Linked DNA regions of Homo sapiens: region 2 is linked to region 1. The links are contacts of gene promoters, found by promoter capture Hi-C in blood cells and fetal thymus (Javierre and others, 2016). All regions are on one chromosome and are shown on one strand. Each heading gives the region's core, a stretch centred on a gene start or on the middle of the fragment in contact. The rest is flanking DNA. Distances are from core to core; before and after follow the strand shown.

Region 1 (2,962 bases), core at 251-2,750:
CATAGGCCAAACTTACAGTCTTTTTGTTTGTTTTTTGAGACGGAGTTTCGCTCTTGTTGCCCAGGCTGGAGTGCAGTGGCGCGATCTCGGCTCACTGCAACCTCTGCCTCCAGGGTTCAAGAGATTCTCCTGCCTCAGCCTCCCGAGTAACTGGGATTACAGGTGCCCGCCACCATGCCTGGCTAATTTTTTTGTATTTTTAGTAGAGACGGGGTTTCACCCTGTTGGCCAGGCTGGTCTTGAACTCTTGACCTAAACTTCTGATCCACCTTTGCCTCCCAAAATGCTGGGATTACAGGCATGAGCCACCATGCCCGGCAGCAAATTTATAGTTCAACTTTGAAACAAAGATAACAGCCCTCTCCCAAAATAAACCCCTTTCTTGCCTGGGGACCAGACTGCTTTTGTAAGACTAACAAATTAGCCACGAGATTAGAAATTACGGTTTAGGAGTCATGCAGGTAGTGGCCACAGATTCTAAACCTCCCCAGTTGCTCCTAGGGATAACATCACTACTGTAAAACCTAAGATTGGTGCTCAAGATATTTTTCCGATCCTGCACTCAATGGATCCGCTGGCGATACACAGATTAAGAAACCGGATCATCCGGTTTTGTGGCCCCCACCCAGAGATCCACTCAGCACAAGAGGACGGCTTCCACTCCCTATGATTGCATCTCCGACCTGACCAATCAGCACTCTCCACTCTCTGGCCCCTACCCACCAAATTATCCTTAATAAAACCCAGTCTCCGAATTTTCAGGGAGACTGATTTGAGTAATAATAAAACTCCGGTCTCCCATTCAGCCGGCTCTGCATGAATTAAACTCTTATTGCAATTCCTCTGTCTTGATAAATCCGCTGTCTGGGAAACGGGCAAAATGAACCCATGGGGTGGTTACACTGACCCTCTGCTGCACATCCCGGACAGCCTTGTTAAGAACCCTTGGTAGGCTGGGCATGGTGGCTCACGCCTGTAATCCCAGCACTTTGGGAGCACGAGGCAGGCAGATCACGAGGTCAGGAGATCGAGACCATCCTGGCTAACACGGTGAAACCCCGTTTCTACTAAAAATACAAAAAATTAGCTGGGCGTGGTGGCAGACGCCTGTAGTTCCAGCTACTCGGGAGGCTGAGGCAGGAGAATGGCGTGAACCCAGGAGGCGGAGCTTGCAGTGGGCCGAGATCGCGCCACTGCGCTCCAGCCTGGGCGACAGAGCGAGACTCCGTCTCAAAAAAAAAAAAAAAAAAAAAAAGAACCCTTGGTATTATTGTTCCACGCTCCCATTTTACCGAGGTGGATCCTGAGGCCCAGAGTGGGCAAAGGGCTTGCCAAGGTCGCAGAGCGCGCAGAGGATTAGAACCCTGACTTCCGTCCAGCACCTGCGGAGTTGGAGACGCCCACAGGAAACGCCCACCTGACCGGGTGAGTGAGGGGGCGGGCGAGCCGGAGGGGTGGAGTTTATTCGCGCCCCGCCTCCGCCACCAGGGCTTGGGGGCGGGGCCTTCCTGCAACCTTTGCGGCTCCAACATGGCTCCGCGGCTGTGCAGCATCTCTGTGACGGCGCGGCGGCTGCTGGGGGGCCCGGGGCCTCGCGCTGGGGACGTTGCGTCTGCAGCTGCGGCGCGGTGAGAGCCCGGCCAGGCAGGGATAGACGCGCGCGGGGTGGGGTGCAGGCGCGGGGGCCAGGGACTGGGTCGTGGGGGAGGGGCTGAGACTCCTCGCTTGGAATCTGGGGGTTAGAGGCGGGGCAGGATCAAGGCCTAGGGAGGGGTCTGGGCAAAGAATGGGGGAGGTGAGAAAGGGATGGGTAGGGTCTTTGTCCTGGTTGGGACCGGGCTGTGATGGGGACCTGATGAAAGATGGTGAGAAGGGCAGGTACTGGGCCCTGGAGAGTGGGAGAGGGCAGAAGACAGGAGGAGTGGCCCATTCCCAGGCGTAGCTTGTGATTTAACACCCACTGGGGGCTTCTGGTAGTCAGCTCCTCCGTCGGGAAGTTCTGTGGGAAAGAGATGATGGCAGGGGAGCAGTGGGGGATCCCCAGGGGCCATGGCTGCACAGACCCTTTGTTCCTCCACCTCGAACTGTACAGGTGGGGAAACGGACCTGAGAGGGAATGGGAGTTGTCCAAGGTCACCCTCCCTGCTGTGCCGTGGCAGCACCAGGTCTGGGACCCAGGCCTGCCAATGCGCCATGCACTTTGCACCCAACTGGTGGCCTCCTGGGAGTGGGAGTCTGGCTGGGCCATGTGCTCTCAGCCTGGGCTTTTGTTTGGGCCCTGCTCTGGGCTGAGCTAGGGCTTGGCCTCCCTGACTGGCCCTGGGCAGCCCCTCACTCCTTGGTCCCCACAGCCCTGTACTTCCCCCATCTCTGCATATATGACCCTGCACAGTTATGACTTGGTGCTTGTCTGTCTCTCTCACTAGACCATGATCTCATTTTTCTCTGTTTCCCCAGCCTCCCACCCTCAGAGGGCTCAGGACTGTGTATGGTCAAGGAATATTTACCAAAGAAGTGAGGCCACCTGTTCCCCCTCCCCCAACCTGTGAAAAGGAAGCAACCATCCCTCCTGCCCTGCAGCCCAGGAATGAAGCTGCAAAGTTCTGATAGTGCCTGCCATGAGATGTTACAGCACAGAGCAGTGGGGCTTTTGGACAGCTGGGAAAGAGGAGTGGCATAAGCGCCCCACCTAGACTGCCCAATAATTAGGGATAAAGCTGACACCGTGGGAAAAGCCTAGAGTTTGCCTGGCACTAACAGATCTAACTCAGACTTTGTAGGTGGGGTGACCTCAGGACTCTTTAAGCCTCGGGTTCCTCATCTGTAAAATGGGAGTAATCAGGATGTATCTCATAGGGTTGTTGAGGATTAAAGATGCTGTGGTTGGTCGGGTATGGTGGCTCATGCCTGTAATCCCAGCACTTTGGGAGGCCGAGGCAGGCAGATCACTTGAGGTCAGCAG
Region 2 (3,408 bases), core at 355-2,854, 520 kb before region 1:
GGCTGAGGCAGAAGGATTGCTTGAGCCTAGGACGTCGAAACCAGCCTGGGCAACCTAGTGAAACCTCACCTCTAAAAAAAATAATTAAAAAAATTATCTGGGCATAGTGGCACATGCCTATACTCCCAACTACTCAGGAAGCTGAGGCAGGAGGATCACTTGAGGCTGGAAGGTCGAAGCTGTAATCCTGTAATGATCATGCCGCCACACTCCAGCCCGGACAATGAAATGAGACTCCCTCTCAAAATAAATAAATAGAGTTTTGGTTTAAAGTAGTCCAAGATCAATCACTGATTTATGTGTGATTTTGCATAAGCAACTTCACCTTTTCGTATTGTTTTCCTATACTAAAATTGATGTTACCTGTATCTCTATTGAGGGATATGAAAATTATCCCATGTTGATATAACATTCAGAAATTACAAGAGAGTGACACAGGAGTATTAAGCATTTTTATGATGTATATTACTTTAAGAACAAACATTGAAAGGGAGACATAAAACTTCCACAATAACTGTCACAAAAAATAAAGCTATAGGGAATGGTATCATTGCCGTTGCCTAGGGTAGTGACTGGCACACAATATGTGCTTATTATCAAAAATATGTCTTTCTCAATTCTATGTTCTAGACAAGAGGGAAAATTACAAATATATGTTAGATATAAACACATTCACTATTACAAGTTTGTATCTCATAGACCAAAAGATGTCATAATACAAATGAGGTTGTCATGATTGCAAATATCATGTTTATGTGCTTATAGCACACATGCATTTTATTGATGCTCTTACATTACTTAAGATAATTTTTTTTTTTGAGACAGAGTCTCACTGTATCACTCAAGCTGGAATTCAGTGGTGCAATCACAGCTCACTGTAGCCTTAACCCCCCAGGCTCAGATGATCCTCCCACCTCAGCCTCCAGAGTAGCTGGAATTACAGGCACTCACCACCATGGCCAGCTAATTTTTTGTATTTTTTATAGAGACAGGGTTTCACCGTGTTGTTCAGGCTGGTCTTGGATTCCTAGGCTCAAGCAGTCTGCCCACCTTGCCTTTCAAAGTGTTATGGTTACACTTTGGATTACAAGCCTGAGCCACCATGCCCAACCAAGAGAATTAGACTGAAATGAGGCCAAGGTATATCATTAAATACAGATGTAAGAAATTTAAAATTAGATTTTGAAAAATAACATCTTACAAGGCAACTTGTAGCTCTCTATGTTTATTTTCCAAATGACAGTTCCTATTTTAGTGACAAGTCAACAAGATTCACAATCCAGCTTTTTTTTTTTTTAATACTTTAAGTTCTGGAATACATGTGCAGAAAGTGCAGGTTTGTTCATGTGCCATGGTGGTTTGTTGCAACCATCAACCCATCATCTAGGTTTTAAGCCCCACATGCATTAGGTATTTGTCCTAATGCTATTCCTTCCCTTGCCCCCCACCCCCCTACAGGCTCCAGTGTGTGATGTTCCCCTTCCTGTTTCCATGTGTTCTCATTGTTCAACTCCCACTTATGAGTGAGAACATACATAACACAGGTTTTCTGTTCCTGTGTTAGTTTGCTGAGAATGATGGTTTCCAGCATCATCCATGTTCCTACAAAGGACATGAACTAATTATTTTTCATGGGTACATAGTTTTCTATGATGTATATGTGCCACATTTTCTTTATCCAGTCTATCATTGATGGGCATTTGGGTTGGTTCCAAGTCTTTGCTATTGTAAATAGTGCTGCAATAAACATATGTGTGCATGTGTCTTTATAATAGAATGATTTATAATACTTTGGATATATACCCAGTAATGGGATTACTTGGTCAAATGGTATTTCTGGTTCTATATCCTTGAGGAATTGCCACACTGTCTTCCACAATGGTTGAACTAATTTACACTCCCACCAACAGTGTAAAAGCATTCCTATTTCTCTACATTCTCTCCAGCATCTGTTGTTTCCTGACTTTTTAGTGATTTCCGTTCTAACTGGCATGAGATGGTATCTCATTGTGGTTTTGATTTGCATCTCTCTAACGACCAGTGATGATGAGCTTTTTTTCATATGTTTGTTGGCTGCATAAATGTCTTCTTTTGAGAAGTGTCTGTTCATATCCTTTGCCCACTTTTTGATGGGGTTGTTTTATTCTTGTAAATTTGTTTTAAGTTCCTTGTAGATTCTGGATATTAAACCTTTGTCAGATGGATAGATTGGAAACATTTTCTCCCATTCTGTATGTTTCCTGTTCACTCTGATGACAATTTCTTTTGCTGTGCAGAAGCTCTTTGGTTTAATTAGTTCCCATTTGTCTATTTTGGCTTTTGTTGCAATTGCTTTTGGTGCTTTAGTCATGAAGTCTTTGCCCATGCCTATGGCCTGAATGGTACTGCCTAGGTTTTCTTCTAGGGTTTTTATGGTTTTAGGTATTACATTTAAGTCTTTAATCCATCTTGAATTAATTTTTGTATAAGGTGTAAGGAAGGGGTCCAGTTTCGGTTTTCTGCGTATGGCTAGCCAGTTTTCCCAGCACCATTTATTAAATAGGGAATCCTTTACTCAATGCTTGTTTTTGTCAGGTTTGTCAAAGATCAGATGGTTGTAGATGTGTGGTGTTATTTCTGAGGCCTCTGTTCTGTTCCATTGGTCTATATATCTATTTTGGTAGCAGTACCATGCTGTTTTGGTTACTGTAGCCTTGTAGCATAATTTGAAGTCAGGTAGCATGATGCCTCCAGCTTTGTTCTTTTTGCTTAGGATTTTCTTGGCTATATGGGCTCCTTTTTGGTTCCATATGAAATTTAAAGTAGTTTCTTCTAATTCTGTGAAGAAAGTCAATGGTAGCTTGATGGGAATAACATTGAATCTATAATTTACTTTGGGCAGTATGGCCATTTTCATGATACACAATCCAGCTTTTTAAACAAATAAGATTTTTGAAAACTTGTTGAGTCCTAGGTACTTGGGTTTTTTGTTTTTGTTTTTGTTTTTGTTTGTTTTTCTGAGATGAAGTTTTGCTCTTGTCACCCAGGCTGGAGTGCAATGGCACGATCTTGGCTCATTGCAATATCTGTCTCCTGGGTTCAAGTGATTCTCCTGCCTCAGCCTCCCAAGTAGCTGGGATTACAGGTGCCCAGCATAATGCCCAACTAATTTTTGTATTTTTAGTAGAGACAGTGTTTCACCATGTTGGCCAGGCTGGTCTCGAACTCCTGAACTCAGGTGATCCACTCGCCTCGGCCTCCCAAAGTGTTGGGATTACAGGCATGAGCCACCATGCCTGGCTGGTACTTGTTTTTATAATAAGAGAAGAAAAGGGGCCAGAAACAGCTTGTAGTATAAGACAATAAGATGATAAGTTTAAGAGCACTGAAACAAAAGGAATGAAAGTAGAAGACCTGGCAATTGAGAAA

The links. Contacts are between HindIII fragments. The CHiCAGO score rates a contact against its expected background, and 5 or more counts as called.
Region 2: a contact is called between a fragment that was not itself captured here and the fragment with the promoter of NIPSNAP1 in region 1, in 6 of 17 cell types (naive CD4 T cells, M0 macrophages, total CD4 T cells and 3 more). The highest score is 7.4, in naive CD4 T cells.

What each region holds. Positions count from the first base shown.
Region 1 is chr22:29,579,651-29,582,612 of GRCh38, reverse strand. It overlaps NIPSNAP1 (nipsnap homolog 1), which reads left to right and starts at 1,500. Exons shown (of 10, transcript NM_003634.4): 1 at 1,500-1,628. The coding sequence starts at 1,531. RefSeq lists a silencer at 1,694-1,743 and an enhancer at 1,727-2,339. The HindIII fragment of the contact is 18,053 bases long and covers 1-2,962 here.
Region 2 is chr22:30,099,478-30,102,885 of GRCh38, reverse strand. The region is part of intron 3 of HORMAD2 (HORMA domain containing 2); the gene reads right to left. Among named protein-coding and RNA genes, the nearest start is that of HORMAD2, 21 kb to the right of the region's middle. The HindIII fragment of the contact is 7,543 bases long and covers 1-3,408 here.